2 separate regions of the Homo sapiens genome follow, and region 1 is linked to region 2. Evidence: promoter capture Hi-C in human tissues and cell types (Jung and others, 2019). All regions are on one chromosome and are shown on one strand. The core of a region is centred on a gene start or on the middle of the fragment in contact, and the rest is flanking DNA. Distances in the headings are between cores, read along the strand shown.

The links. Contacts are between HindIII fragments. The study calls those that stand out against the background at their distance.
Region 1: a contact is called between a fragment that was not itself captured here and the fragment with the promoter of ARC in region 2, in 1 of the 25 tissues and cell types used here (dorsolateral prefrontal cortex).

Annotation. Positions count from the first base shown.
Region 1 is chr8:142,554,834-142,561,971 of GRCh38, reverse strand. No RefSeq gene overlaps it. Among named protein-coding and RNA genes, the nearest start is that of ARC, 56 kb to the left of the region's middle. RefSeq lists enhancers at 6,149-6,648, 6,649-7,138. The HindIII fragment of the contact is 7,337 bases long and covers 1-5,101 here.
Region 2 is chr8:142,611,599-142,619,463 of GRCh38, reverse strand. It overlaps ARC (activity regulated cytoskeleton associated protein), which reads left to right and starts at 4,985. Exons shown (of 3, transcript NM_015193.5): 1 at 4,985-6,980; 2 at 7,212-7,356; 3 at 7,607-7,865. The coding sequence starts at 5,193. The coding sequence ends at 6,383. RefSeq lists a silencer at 4,669-4,878 and an enhancer at 4,894-5,792. The HindIII fragment of the contact is 38,144 bases long and covers 1-7,865 here.

The DNA.
Region 1 (7,138 bases), core at 184-2,683, 54 kb after region 2:
TATGGAAGAGCAAGGATTTGAAAGACAATGGATTTCTCACCAGAAACCATGGAAGTCGGGGAGCAATGGAGCAAAATTTTTTAAATGCTGAAGAAAAAGGAATGGTCAATATGAATTCTATATCTAGTGAAAACATTCTTTGGGAATTTAGCTGGAATAAAGGCATCCTCAGATGAAGGAGGACTTGGATGTAATTCTTACACCTTATATAAAAGCTAGCTCAGACTTTATCTAAACATAAAATGCAAACCTATCACACTTTTAATATCAGAGAAAAATCCCTGTGACCTGGCAAGAGGTCTTACATATGACACCAAAAGCTCAATCAATGGGAAGACAACTTTGTTCTGCAAAAGATATTCTTGAAAGAATTAGAAGAACAGCCATGACAATAGCCAGCAAGGAATTCTCGAACCATTGTTGGTGAGAATGCAAAACAGAGCAGCTGCTCTGGAAAATTGTTTGTCATTTTCTTACAAAGTTAAAGATACACTCACCTTATGCCCTAGCAGTTCCACTCCTAGGCATTTGCCCTAGAGACATGAAGATGTTTCTACACAAACTCAAGCATGAATGTTTATATCAGCTTTTTTCATAGTTGTCAAAAACTGGATATAACTCAAATGTCCTTCTGTGAGTGAATAGATAAACTATAGTACACCCATACAATGGAATTCTACTCAAGAATTGGAAAGAGATGGGCTGGCCATGGTGGCTCATGCCCGGAATCCCAGCACTTTGGGAGGCCAAGGCAGGAGGACCGCTTGAGCCCAGGGATTTGAGACCAGCCTAGGCAACATAGCAAGACCCCATCTCAAAACAAAATAAAACAGGCCAGGCACAGTGGCTCATCCCTATGATCCCACACTTTAGGAGGCTGAGGTGGGAGGATTGCTTGGGCCCAGGAGTTTGAGATGAGCTTGGGCAATATAATGAGAACTTGTCTCTACAAAAACCTTAAAAAATTAGTTGGGCAGGGTGGTGTGTGTCTATAGTCCCAGATACTAGGGAGGCTGCAGTGGGAGGATCACTTGAGCCTGGGAGAGTGAGGCTGCAGTGGTCTGTGGTTGCGCCACTGCACTCCAGCCTGGGCAACAGAGTGAGACCCCGGCTCAGAAAAAGGAAGGATGGGTGCACAGCACCGGGATGGATCTGAGCAGCGTGAATGCTGAGGGGTGGGGGCCATCCCAAGGGGCTGCACCCTGCGTGATTCCATGGACATGGCATTCTGGAAACAGGAAAAGTGCGGTGCAGTCATTTGCTGCATCCCCATCTATTAGCCAGTGATGGACCATGTGCTGCATCCACTCCTGTTAGACGGTGATGGACCATGTGCTGCGTCCCCTCCTGTTAGCTGGTGATGGACCATGTGCTGTATCCTCGCCTGTTTGCCAGTGATGGACCATGTGCTGCATCCCCGCCTGTTAGCCAGTGATGGACCATGTGCTGCATCCCCGCCTATTAACCGGTGATGGACCATGTGCTGCATCCCCGCCTGTTAACTGGTGATGGACCATGTGCTGCATCCCCGCCTGTTAGCCAGTGATGGACCATGTGCTGCATCCGCTCCTGTTAGACAGTGATGGACCATGTGCTGCGTCCCTTCCTGTTAGCTGGTGATGGACCATGTGCTGTATCCTCGCCTGTTTGCCAGTGATGGACCATGTGCTGCATCCCCGCCTGTTAGCCAGTGATGGACCATGTGCTGCATCCCCGCCTATTAACCGGTGATGGACCATGTGCTGCATCCCTGCCTATTAACCGGTGATGGACCATGTGCTGCATCCCCTCCTGTTAGCCAGTAATGGACCATGTGCTGCATCCCCTCCTGTTAGCCAGTGATGGACCATGTGCTGCGTCCCCTCCTGTTAGCCAGTGATGGACCATGTGCTGCATCCCCTCCTGTTAACCGGTGATGGACCATGTGCTGCATCCCCTCCTGTTAGCCAGTGATGGACCATGTGCTGCATCCCCGCCTATTAACCGGTGATGGACCATGTGCTGCATCCCCTCCTGTTAGCCAGTGATGGACCATGTGCTGCATCCCCTCCTGTTAGTGATGGACCATGTGCTGCATCCCCGCCTGTTAGCCAGTGATGGACCATGTGCTGCATCCCCGCCTGTTAGTGATGGACCATGAGCTGCATCCCCACCTGTTAGCCAGTAATGGACCATGTGCTGCATTCCCGCCTGTTAGCCAGTGATGGACCATGAGCTGCATCCTCGCCTGTTAGCCAGTGATGGACCATGTGCTGCATCCCCGCCTGTTAGCCAGTGATGGACCATGTGCTGCATCCCCGCCTGTTAGCCAGTGATGGACCATGTGCTGCATCCCCGCCTGTTAGCCAGTGATGGACCATGTGCTGCATCCCCGCCTGTTAGCCAGTGATGGACCATGTGCTGCATACCCTCCTGTTAGCCAATGATGGACCATGTGCTGCGTCCCCTCCTGTTAGTGATGGACCATGAGCTGCATCCCCGCCTGTTAGCCAGTAATGGACCATGTGCTGCATCCCCGCCTGTTAGCCAGTGATGGACCATGTGCTGCGTCCCCTCCTGTTAGCCAGTGATGGACCATGTGCTGCATCCCCGCCTGTTAGTGATGGACCATGAGCTGCATCCCCGCCTGTTAGCCAGTAATGGACCATGTGCTGCATCCCCGCCTGTTAGCCAGTGATGGACCATGTGCTGCATCCCCTCCTGTTAGTGATGGACCATGTGCTGCGTCCCCGCCTGTTAGATGGTGATGGACCATGTGCTGCATCCCCTCCTGTTAGACGGTGATGGACCATGTGCTGCGTCCCCGCCTGTTAGCCAGTGATGGACCCCATGTACAATGGTGGCCTTGTAAGATTGCAATGGAGATGAAAGTGTCTGTCATCTAGTGACATCCTAGCGGCCATTTCTCCCATGTGTGGTGACACTGGCGTAAGCAACCCTACTGCACTGCCAGTCTATAAAATCAAGCTCATATAGTTATGCACATTACATAATACTTAATAATAAATGACTCTGTTACTGGCTTATGTGTTTACTGTACAATACTTTTGTTATTTTAGAGTATACCCTTTCTACTTATATAGAAAAAGGTGAACTGCAAAACAGCCCCAGGCAGGGCTTTCAGGAGGGGTCCAGAAGAAGGTATTGCTGCCCTAGGAGGGGACAGCTCCATACATGCCACCGCCCCTGAGGACCTTCTAATGGGACAAGACGTGAAGGCGGAAGACAGTGAGGTGGGTGATTGTGACCCTGTGCAGGCCTAGGCTACTGTGTGTGTGTGTGTGTGTGTATATATATGTTAGCTTTTAAGAAAAAAGTTTAAAAAGTAAAAAAAAATAAATAAATTTTAAAATAGAATGAAGCTTATAGGATAGGGATATAATAAAGGAAAATATTTTTGTACAGCTGTACTTGTTTGTGTTTTAAGGTAAATGTTATTACAAGAGAGTCAAAAAGTTATGAAAATTAAAAGGTTCATAAAGTAAAAACATTACAGTAAGATATCAAAGAATGAAAATATTTTTAAACAGATTTGGTGAAGCCTACACGTACAGTGTTTATAAAGTCTCCAGCAGTGCACAGGGACATCCGAGGGCGTCCCATTCACTCGCCACTCAGGCACTGGCTCACCCAGAGTAACTGCTCGTCCTGCCAGCTCCATGCATGCTAAGTGCCCTATACAGATGGGCCATTTCTAATCTTTTATACTGTATTTTTACTGTACCTTTTCTATGTTTAGCTACACAAATTCTGTGGGGTTTTTTTTTTTTTTTTGAGATTGGGTCTCACTATGTTGCCCAAGCTGGTCTTGAACTCCTAAGCTCCAGGGATCCTCCCAAGTAGCTGAGACTATAGGTGCAACTACTGCACCCCGTTTGGACACACAGTTTCCTGCCATTGTGTTACAGTTGCCCACAGTATTCAGTACAGTCACAGGCTGACCAGGTTTGTAGCCCAGGGGCAACAGGCTGTACCATACAGGCTGGGCGCATCGGCTCTGCCTTCTAGACCTGTGTGAGTAGACTCTGTGATGTTCACGCGAGGAGGACATCACATAAGGACACATTTCTCAGAATGCATCCTCGTCGTGAAGCGACATACGATTGTACAGGGACGAAGCATAGAGCAGTGGCTGCCCCGGGGGGAGGATGGGGAAAGGATTTTACTAGAAAGGGACCTCCTGAGGGGATGCTGGGGGCTGGTGGCACTGTCCCACTCATGGTGACAGTTGCATGGGTCTGACAGAGTTGTGCACCGTCTGTTCGTGGCAGTGGCTGAGTGTTTACATACGGCCTAACCCATCCAACACTTAAAATGGACGAATCTTAGTATATTTAAGTTGTACCTCCAAGTTAAACCAAAAATGCAAAATTCAAGTGCGCACACCGATATTACTCGCCATGCACAGAGAATGTCATTACATATGGCTCCGTCTCATCTGTGGTATATGTTTGGCTGTATTTTATATTAAAATAAACCACGTCAAGAAAAAAATGAAAAAGAACAGACAAGATGCACACATAGCAACCCAGATGGATCTTTTTAAAAAAAGTGCTTATGGAAAAAAGTTAAAAACAGATTGAGATCTATAACAATATAGTTTAAATAAATAGACACTTTGATAATTGTGCCATGGTTATATAAGATGTTAATGACGGGGGAAACTTGTAGGTGGTAGAGCAGTGCTTTCTATACAATCTTTGCAACTTTCTGTTGCCTAAAATTATTATCAAATAAAAAGAACACTTGAAAAAAAAAAAGACATATTAACTAAATTAGAGTAGCTGCTTATCGGTTGGGGGGCGGATTATGGAGATTCAAGAGCATAAATAAGCAAGAACGGGGCTTCCCATGGGCCAGCATGATGCCAGGCAATGAGTGGGATTAATTTGGCCTTCTCCACACGGACAACAGAGTTACAGTCAACAGGTGTTTGCCAGCAGGACTTGGAAAGCCTGTGCTCCGGGAAGAAGGAGAGCATGACATCTTAGAAGGAATGGTGACAAAGGAATGGCTAAACATATAAGTCCATATAACCAGGGCTGTCTACTGATGAGGATAATCCTGTCTCATTCATAGCGTTGTACATACAGAGCTCAAATGATAGACAAAGCTACCATGGAAGCCCAACGAGAATGAGTAAAGTCTTCTGAGGTCCTTGTACCGTTTGAAAGAGAGTTCATAGACTGATGCATTTTAGAACCAGTTAAATAATGGTTATAATTTCAAAGGTAAGCTGAAAAGGAATAGAAAGAATCTGTAAGATTTCCATATGAATAAGAGGTAAAACTGCATTAAAAATCAATACTTTAGGTCAGGCATGGTGGCTCACGCCTGTAATCCCAGCACGTTGGGAGGCCAAGGCAGGAGGATCACTTGAACCCAGGAGCTCAAGACCAGCCTGGACAACATAGTGAGACCCCATCTCTGCTAACAAATAAACAAACAAATAAATTATCCAGGTGTGGTGGTGCCCGCCTGTAGTCCCAGCTACTCAGGAGGCAGGGGCAGGAGGATCACTTGAGCCCAGGAGTTTGAGGCTGCAGTGAGATATGATTGTGCCACTGAGCTCAGCCTGGGTGACAGAGTGACATCCTGCCTCTAAAATAAAGAAAGAAATACTTTAAAAATGCAGTCCCTTCGAAAAATCAGAAAAGGAGTTTTGTGGTTCTTTTTTTTGTTGTTGTTGTTGTTTTTTTTTTTTTTTGAGAGACAGGATCTCACTATGTTGCCCCATCTGGTCTCACACTCCTGGCCTCAAGCAACCCTCCCACCTCAGGCTCCCAAAGTGCTGAGATTACAGGTCTGAGCCACCATGCCCAGCTGAGAATTGAGATTTTTTTTAAATTAGAGTAAAAACAAGACATTAATGCGGCACTAAGACAGAGTACCAGATCCAAATACAGCAACCATCACCCAAAAATAGGAATAAAAAATTAAAAGCCAGATTCTCTGATTGGATTTTAAAAGTCCAGTTCTATGCCCTTACATGAGACATACCTAAAATTTGAGAATAAACCCACAAAAATGTTATTTAACAAAGGACGATGAGGGTATTTATATTAATATCAAATGAGATAGACTTTAAGCCAAAAGAAAAAAACATTATTATATAGAGAGATGGTTACTTCAAAATGACAAAAATTCAAATCTCCAGGAACATATAATAATTCTGAACTCATATTCCTCAAAACATACTAAGCAAAATTTGGTAGAATTACAAAGAAAAAAGAAACAATCTACTATCATAGTGGGAAATTTCAATACTTCTTTCCAATTCTTGACAGGTCCAGCAGATTCAAAATAATTGAAAGTTAAAGGAGACAAGAAATCCGAACTGAAGTGCTTCTCTTCCTCCCTCTCACATACTCAAATACAGCACAAGATACTTGTGTGACCAGCCACGGGGTCGCTTCCCCACACACTGAGCGACTGCAGTGGACACTGCTGGGTATCCTCAATTCAATCCCGACGCCATCCATCTCGAGGTCGCGTCAGATCCCGCAAGTCGAGGGCTCAGTCCCACACAACGACCCCACTTCCAATGCTAGTGCTTCTGACTAGCACCGTGGGAATCAGGGTTCCCACGACCCTCTCCTTGGGTCTGATGACTTGCTGGAGCGGCTCACAGAACTCAGGGACACACTGAGCCGCGTCTACCCATTTATGACACAGGCTGTGACGAAGGTGCGGATGCACAGCAGGTGGGGGAGACGTGTGGGCAGGCACGGGGAGGGGCGCGGAGCTCCCAGGCCCTCCCAGCACCACCTCCAGGCACCTGCGTGTGTTCAGCTATCTGGGGGCTCCCCAAACTGTGTCCTTTTGGGGTTTTATGGAAGCTTTATTAGGAATGCATGATTGATTACATCATTAGCCATTGGTGATCAACCTTCAGCCTCTCTCCCCTGCCCAGAGGTGGGAGGTGGGGCTGAAAGTCCCAACCCTCTGATGCTGCCTTGGTCTTTCCAGTGACCAGCCCCATCTTGAAGCTGTTTCAGGGACATCAGTCATCTCATTAACATACAAAAGAAGCACTTGTCACTCTGAAGATTCCAAGAGTTTCAGGAGCTGTATGTCAGGAAATAGGGGTGAAGATTAAATATATATTTCACAATATCACAATGAGGTAGGAAGCAGG
Region 2 (7,865 bases), core at 3,736-6,235:
CCATTCCACCCTGGTCCCCTCCAGGGCTCTCACAGAGGCTGTCGGGCTGCAGCAGCTATGAGGCTGGAGGTCGGGCAGCTGGGTTGATGGACGACGGCCTCAACTCTGTCACTTGCCCGCTCAGCAGCCTGGGGCAGGTCCTCCCACCCCTAAGGACCCCTGTGGAACCTGAGGCGAGAGCATCTACCTGGGTGGCCAAGCAGGAGCAGCTGCGCCCCGGCCTCTCCTCTGCCCCTCTACTTTCCCACCTCAGTCCTTTGTGCCTCCTTGGTCTTTTCCCCAGGCTCAGTCCTGGCCTGCTGTGCACCCCCCCATGCTCTGGAGGTGGACTGGGACCCTCATCCTCAGCTCTGCTCTCTGCCTACCCTGGCCCGTCCCCACTGCAGGTGGCCCTCAGGACGGAGACAGCAGGGCCCTGGTGTCCTCCAGCTGCCTGGACCCATATCCGCCAACTGCCCCTGCAACTCGCCACCAGGTCTGTGCCACCACTGCAGGAGCGACACTGGGGGCGGACGCTGGCCAGGCCTCAGAGAACAGAGGAGGTGGGCAGGGCGAAGAAGCCCCCAGAACCTCTCCTGAGGAGCTGAGGGCGGGGCCCCGGCCACTTCTCAGGCTCCAGACTGGCACTGACGAGAGGCTCCGGCAGGAACGGCTGGGAGAAACCTCGCCAGACCAGGTGGCACGAGGCCAGGGATGAGGCTCCTGGAGCCCCGGAGCTCCCGGCCACCCCTCGAGGCCTTGGCATTGCCACCCACTTTACGGATGGAAAGCTGAGGCTCAGGTGAGCAACTGTCCAATGTTTCCTGACTAGAAAGGAATGGAACAGGAACCATTCCAGCCCTCAGACCCCTCGCCAGTGTCTGCTCTGGACCAGGCCCTGCTTACACTCAGGTGTTCACCTATGGGCACCACCTGTAGGGTGGTGCAGGGACTCAGCCAGGCCAGGCAGCTGGGACAGCCTTGCCCTGTGCCTGCGAGGAAGAGGCAACAGGAAAAGAGGATACCTGGGGTGGGAGTCCAGCCTGGGAGCCCAGCGAGGTCAGAGGTCAGCAGCTCCTGCAGCCTGTGGAGCCCTGGGCTGGACAGCAAGGGACACCCGGTGGGAGCAGGTGGCTGAGAGGCTGGCCTCCAGGTCTGGCCATGCAGCCTGGGCAAGCAATGGGCACCCTGAGGGCATAGGGCAGCCTGGTTCTTCTCTTCCAGCCCCACCGGGCAGTAGATGGTGACAGATGAGGCCACAAGGCTGGGGAGTGGTCACATGTGGGGGGCGGGTGCCCGAACCAACCCCTGGGACTGCCTCATTCCTTCTCTGCTGCCGGCTCCTCACTCCACGCAGCCCACACAGAAGGGCAGCAGGAGCCCCGGAATGTGTGCAAAGGGTGGGGTGGGCAGGTGTGTGTGGCCAGCAGTGGGCAGGTGAGGAAGGGCCTTTATGAAGACAGTGATGTGGGGGGCCAAGGCAGAGTTGGGGGCCCTCTGGGTTGTTTCCAAAGAGGACAGAGCCTGGAGGCAGGGGAGATGGGGGAGGTGTGTGCCTCTGCGTGTGCCCATGTGTTTGCGCATGTGTGTGAGTGGGGGTGGGTGTGAGCTCTGGCCTGAAGGGGCCTGTGGTTGCCTCTCCCTGCTGAGCAGCGCTAACTGCCGGCACCCGAGATCAGCAGGGCCAGCCTGGGGGAGCAGCAGGATGCCCCAGGTCAGCAGCTGCCCTGTGAACGCTCCTGGCAACCCAGAAAGGCCCTGCCGGAGTGGGTCAGCCAGGGCTGAGACAGTCTGGGGCTGCGGGGAGAGAGCTGACTCCCTTTGCTCTGATCAGGCAGGAGCAGAGGCGGCTGGGCACCCCAGAAGGAGAAGGGAGGCCCAAGGCACAGGGTGGCCCCTGCCTTTCAGAGCAGGTACCCGCACGCCTCTGGGAACCTAGGTGGTGGGGGCTCAGGAACCAGCACTAAGAGGTCCTTCGAGGCTGTCGTGAGCCTGGTGGAGATCTCAACCGTGAACAGAACCTGGGGGTCATGGGCTACCCCACCCTCCCCTGCAGGACCCCTCCTCTCAGGCAGGTGGGGCCTCAGAGTGGTCAGACCTGCGCAGCAGCAGACCAGGTTGGCTTTGAGAGTGGGGATCCCCCAGGTGCTCCCAATCTCCTTGTGCAGGTCTAGCCCCCACCCCCTTCCCCTGTTCCTTCCCCCACCTGCATCCCCAAGCCATGCTGCTCCAGTGGCTGTCAGGGACGGGCACGGGGTGGGGGTGGGCTGGAGAGAGGAGCAGGGCAGGCCCCTGTCAGGAGAGGCCCCCGCCCCAGGTGGATGGGAGTCAGCCTGGCCTCCTTTCCCGAGGCTGCAGTGCGGGGGTTTGGTGAGGGCTTCTGGGGCGATAATTGGGCAGCGATTAAGCGTTCCTGGCAGCTGCGGCTGTTGCCTGTCACCGGTCAGCTCAGGCCTGCATTCACAGCCTCTGCAGACCCTGCTGGAGGGGGTTGGGGAGGGGAAGACGGGGCTCCGCGTGGCACCCCCGACGCTGCCTGCCCTCGTGCCATCCAGGGCAGGCACTGTGCTCTCCCACCGGTCTCGGCTTGGCCACTTCTGGCTTGCTGTTTAGCAGGTGACAGGGGTGGTGATGGGCCACGGGGCATTGAGCAGAGGACGCCAGGATTCCTCACCAAGGGCCTGGCTCCTGCCCAGCCCTGCCTTGCTCACCGGGCCACCTTGGGCACTCACCCTTCTCCAGGCCTGGCTCCCTCCACACAGGTGAGGGAACTGAGGCAGCGGCACCACCTATGACCTTGGCTCACGTGTCCCCAGTCCTGCCTCCTTGTCAGCTTGCTGATGCCTTGGGTGGGGGTGGCAGCTGGAGGCCACTGCTGGCCAGAGGCCTAAGAGCTGTGCCCTGGCGGGGACGTCAGAGGCCACACGGGCTTGTAAACCCTGGCGGGGCTGGCCCCTGGTCATTGAAGTGCTGGCTCTCACAATGGACACACATGCACGGTCAGTGCCCAGCACCCAGACAACACCTACAGGCTCAGGCTGGCCCCAACCCGGACATGTGGCCCTCGGTGACCGCTGGCTGCACTCACCCAAGGCTGCTGGCGTCTGCCCGTCCCGCATGTGCCCACCCAGCTCCTCTCCCTGGGATTCCGCAGTGGAGAAGCGGGAAGGTCCCTGTGCTGGAGACTTCTCTGCCTGGCTCCCCCTCCCAGCTCCGCGGTGCCCCTCCGCCCTCCCTTCTCTGTCCGCCCACTTACCTTTAATTAGAAATGCCAGGAGAGCCATTTTTGGGGAGTTTTTTTGCCAGAAAGACATTCCCCCCCAGGGGCGGAAGGAAGGAGGAGACAGACTGGCTCTGAGGCTGGGAGAGGGCTCCCCGGGAGAGCCGGTTGGGGGGGGGCTCAGAGGGTTGGCAGGGAGGGGGGATTCCAGCAAGTGGGCACCTGTGTGCCCTTGAGTGCCTGAATAAGACAGGGGATGCTGGGGGGAGCTGAGGGCTGTGAGTGGGGGGTATGAGTGTGTATGTGGGAGCTATGAGTGGGGGGTATGAGTGTGTATGTGGGAGCTATGAGTGGGGGGTATGAGTGTGTGTGGGGGCTGTGAGTGAGGGCATGAGTGTGTGGGGTGGGGTTAGAGTGGGGGCTATGAGTGTGTATGTGGGGGTGTGAGTGTGCAGCATGTGTGTGTCTGAGAGAGGGAAAGGGCAGCTGGCAGCAGGAACAAGATGTCTTGATTGTCAGCGATGATGTCCTCATGGCCCTCTGGCTGTGGGGAATGGTGTGTGTCACCCCTGCCTGGGTAACATCAGAGGACCTGAGACCCATGCCTATCCAGCCAGCACTGGAGTAACTCAGGAAGGGCGTCCCTACCCCCGCCAGGTTGCCAGGGAGGCAGAAGGGACCTCCCTCCCGAGGGAGTCTCGGCTTCCGGAGCCCCGCTCCTTATATGGTGCTTGGCTTCCCTCTGCCTCTCCTGATGGCACTGTGCTGCCAGCACCGGCCCCCCTCCCTCTCCCTCCTCGCCTCTCCTCCCTCCCCTTCTCCTTTCCCTCCTTCCACCTCCCTCCCTGTCTCCCTCTCTCCTCCCCTCTTCCATCCCCTTAGAAGTCTTGGAGCCTCTGGCCAGGTTCTTGATATAGCCAGGGTCTTCAGGGCCCAATTCCCTTCACTGGGGGCTAAATGTCCCCTCCATGTCCTCCAAACCCCAGCCCCCCAGGTAGCAGCTGCCAGATTTCCCTGGAAACACAGAAAAGTATTGGGCCTCACCAGAGACCTGCGTATGGGGGCATGGGGCAGCCCTGTCCAGTCACTGCCACGTGGGCCCCTGTCACCCATGCACACCAACGCCAGGGCCAGGCAGAGCGAGCCTCTGCCTGGCTGTGCGTCCCTCACACAGAGCCCAAGACCTGGACTCAGGACCCGGGCAGGAGTGAGTGGGAGCTCAAAGCCACATCTGGGAGCTCACATGGAGACTTGCTGAGCCCCTGGGCACAGAGGCTGATGGTGAGGGTCCTTCCCGGGCTCAGCTGCACATCCTGCAGAGCTGGGTGGGCGGGGTCAGGGGCAGTGAGGACCCAGGAGAGCAGTGGCCAGCGCCAGCCCCCTCCAGCCCCGCAAAGAGAGAGGCGAGTGGAGAGGAGGAAGGCCACCTTGGGACCCTGGGAGGCAGCAGATGACAGCCCGCCCAGCGCCCGGGAGGGGGCGTGGGAGGGGCGCCCAGTGCCCGGCTCAGTCCCTCGGTCCCCGCAGGCTGAATGAGCCCCGCCGTCCGGGGTGGGAGGTACGGAGCGGAGGGATTAGTCATCCTGGCCCCGCCATGTGTGCAGGGGGTGGGACCTCCCGTCCCTTGCCGCCCGGGAGCCGAGTGGGCGCAGGGCGGGGCCTGCAGGGGCGCGGGCGGGGCGCTGGCGGGGAGCCTGCGGCTGGGCCAATGAGAAACCGGGCTCGGCGAGCCGGCCGCCCACGGGCCTCGCTGGCTGCATAAAGAGCCGGCGGCCAGGACTCAGCGCAGAGCTCGGGCGCGGCGTCCTCCCTCCGCAGCAGCCGAGCCGGACCTGCCTCCCCGGGCGTGCTCCGCCGGCCCCGCCGCCGGCCCGCAGCGACAGACAGGCGCTCCCCGCAGCTCCGCACGGGACCCAGGCCGCCGGACCCCAGCGCCGGACCACCCTCTGTCCGCCCCGAGGAGTTTGCCGCCTGCCGGAGCACCTGCGCACAGATGGAGCTGGACCACCGGACCAGCGGCGGGCTCCACGCCTACCCCGGGCCGCGGGGCGGGCAGGTGGCCAAGCCCAACGTGATCCTGCAGATCGGGAAGTGCCGGGCCGAGATGCTGGAGCACGTGCGGCGGACGCACCGGCACCTGCTGGCCGAGGTGTCCAAGCAGGTGGAGCGCGAGCTGAAGGGGCTGCACCGGTCGGTCGGGAAGCTGGAGAGCAACCTGGACGGCTACGTGCCCACGAGCGACTCGCAGCGCTGGAAGAAGTCCATCAAGGCCTGCCTGTGCCGCTGCCAGGAGACCATCGCCAACCTGGAGCGCTGGGTCAAGCGCGAGATGCACGTGTGGCGCGAGGTGTTCTACCGCCTGGAGCGCTGGGCCGACCGCCTGGAGTCCACGGGCGGCAAGTACCCGGTGGGCAGCGAGTCAGCCCGCCACACCGTTTCCGTGGGCGTGGGGGGTCCCGAGAGCTACTGCCACGAGGCAGACGGCTACGACTACACCGTCAGCCCCTACGCCATCACCCCGCCCCCAGCCGCTGGCGAGCTGCCCGGGCAGGAGCCCGCCGAGGCCCAGCAGTACCAGCCGTGGGTCCCCGGCGAGGACGGGCAGCCCAGCCCCGGCGTGGACACGCAGATCTTCGAGGACCCTCGAGAGTTCCTGAGCCACCTAGAGGAGTACTTGCGGCAGGTGGGCGGCTCTGAGGAGTACTGGCTGTCCCAGATCCAGAATCACATGAACGGGCCGGCCAAGAAGTGGTGGGAGTTCAAGCAGGGCTCCGTGAAGAACTGGGTGGAGTTCAAGAAGGAGTTCCTGCAGTACAGCGAGGGCACGCTGTCCCGAGAGGCCATCCAGCGCGAGCTGGACCTGCCGCAGAAGCAGGGCGAGCCGCTGGACCAGTTCCTGTGGCGCAAGCGGGACCTGTACCAGACGCTCTACGTGGACGCGGACGAGGAGGAGATCATCCAGTACGTGGTGGGCACCCTGCAGCCCAAGCTCAAGCGTTTCCTGCGCCACCCCCTGCCCAAGACCCTGGAGCAGCTCATCCAGAGGGGCATGGAGGTGCAGGATGACCTGGAGCAGGCGGCCGAGCCGGCCGGCCCCCACCTCCCGGTGGAGGATGAGGCGGAGACCCTCACGCCCGCCCCCAACAGCGAGTCCGTGGCCAGTGACCGGACCCAGCCCGAGTAGAGGGCATCCCGGAGCCCCCAGCCTGCCCACTACATCCAGCCTGTGGCTTTGCCCACCAGGACTTTTGAGCTGGGGCTGACTCCTGCAGGGGAAGCCCTGGTCCAGCTGGGTGCCCCCTCGAGCTCCGGGCGGACTCGCACACACTCGTGTCATCCAGATGTGAGCACCGCACCCAGCGGCAAAGAGCCCTCCCCCCTGCAGGGCTCCACCCATCACCCTCCCTCCGTCTGTCTTTCCGGCCTGGACCCCACCCTCCACACTCTCAGGCCATCACAGAACACCCCAGCTTCCTCATTCTGCTACAACACCCAGGCCCTCTGGACATCCAGAAAACCAAGTGTCCGGATGGCAGGGGCCAGCGGCCACCAAGCTCATGGGACACCCAGAGCAGAAGCTAGGGCAGAGCCAATGCTGAGGGAGCCTCGACTTCCGGCGCCGCCGCCCTCTCCCGGCATCCGCAGAGCCAGCTGACGCCCTCCCTGCCTCCCAGGGCAGCTGGCCAGCCTCGGGCAGCGCGGCCCCCTCCTCCCAGGGGAGAGTAGAAGTCGCACACGCAGCAGAGCAGACCTGATGTCCCGGTGCTTCCTGGCCCCTCAGGTGAGCCCCTGCCCCAAGGCAGTACCGGCTGTGGGGCATCTGAGAGCTGGCGGGATCCGGAGGCTGTTTTCTAGGAGAGCCCACTGAGGCTTGGGCCCCCAGCAAGTTAGCCAAAGGGATGGGGTGGGGCTGGCATCATGGAAGGGGGCATTGGGGAGAGTGGGCCGGGTGGGAGGCAGGGGCAGTTTGCTGAGCCAGCTCTCACATGGACCCGCGCTTTCTCTCCCCCAGCTCCAGTGATTCACGCCCGCCTGGAGAAGAATCAGAGCTCAGCTCATGACTCACCCATGGCAGGCGGAGGGTCCCAGAGGGGCTGAGTCCTCAAATCCGGCTGAGGCAGCAGCTGGCACCATCAGAGCCAGGAGAGTGACAACAGGTAACGGAGCACCACCCTTCCACCCAGACCCCACCATCAGCTGTCCCGGCCAAATGAGCTCCTCCCCAGACCCCAGACACCCTGCGGCCCAGGCCACTCCCCAGTGTTCGGGCTCGCTGGGAGGCTCTGACGGGGTCGGGGGGCCTCTGCCTTGGAAGACCAGCGCCATCCACCGGCCCCAGCCCCTCCCCATGGAGCCCTGGCTACTGTCCTGCGTGGTCCTTCACTGCCCACTCTCCTGTTCTTTCAGGTCTCAAGGTTCCCACAAAGTCTTTGCTGCTGTGCTGGGCACCACCCACCCCTCACCTTGCAGGCTGCCTGCGTGGGAGGCGAAGTCCCAGGACAGCCCAGAGGGGGGCTACAGAGAGGAGTCGGCTGCAGCAGAGGGCAGGAGCCCCAGCTTAGCCCTGAGCGCCAGCGCGAGGACCAGGGCCTGCCACTAAGCCCGCCCCGCTGGCCGCCAGCTGCCCGTCCCCAGAGCCACTGCAGCAGGAGTCGGGCCCTGCCTC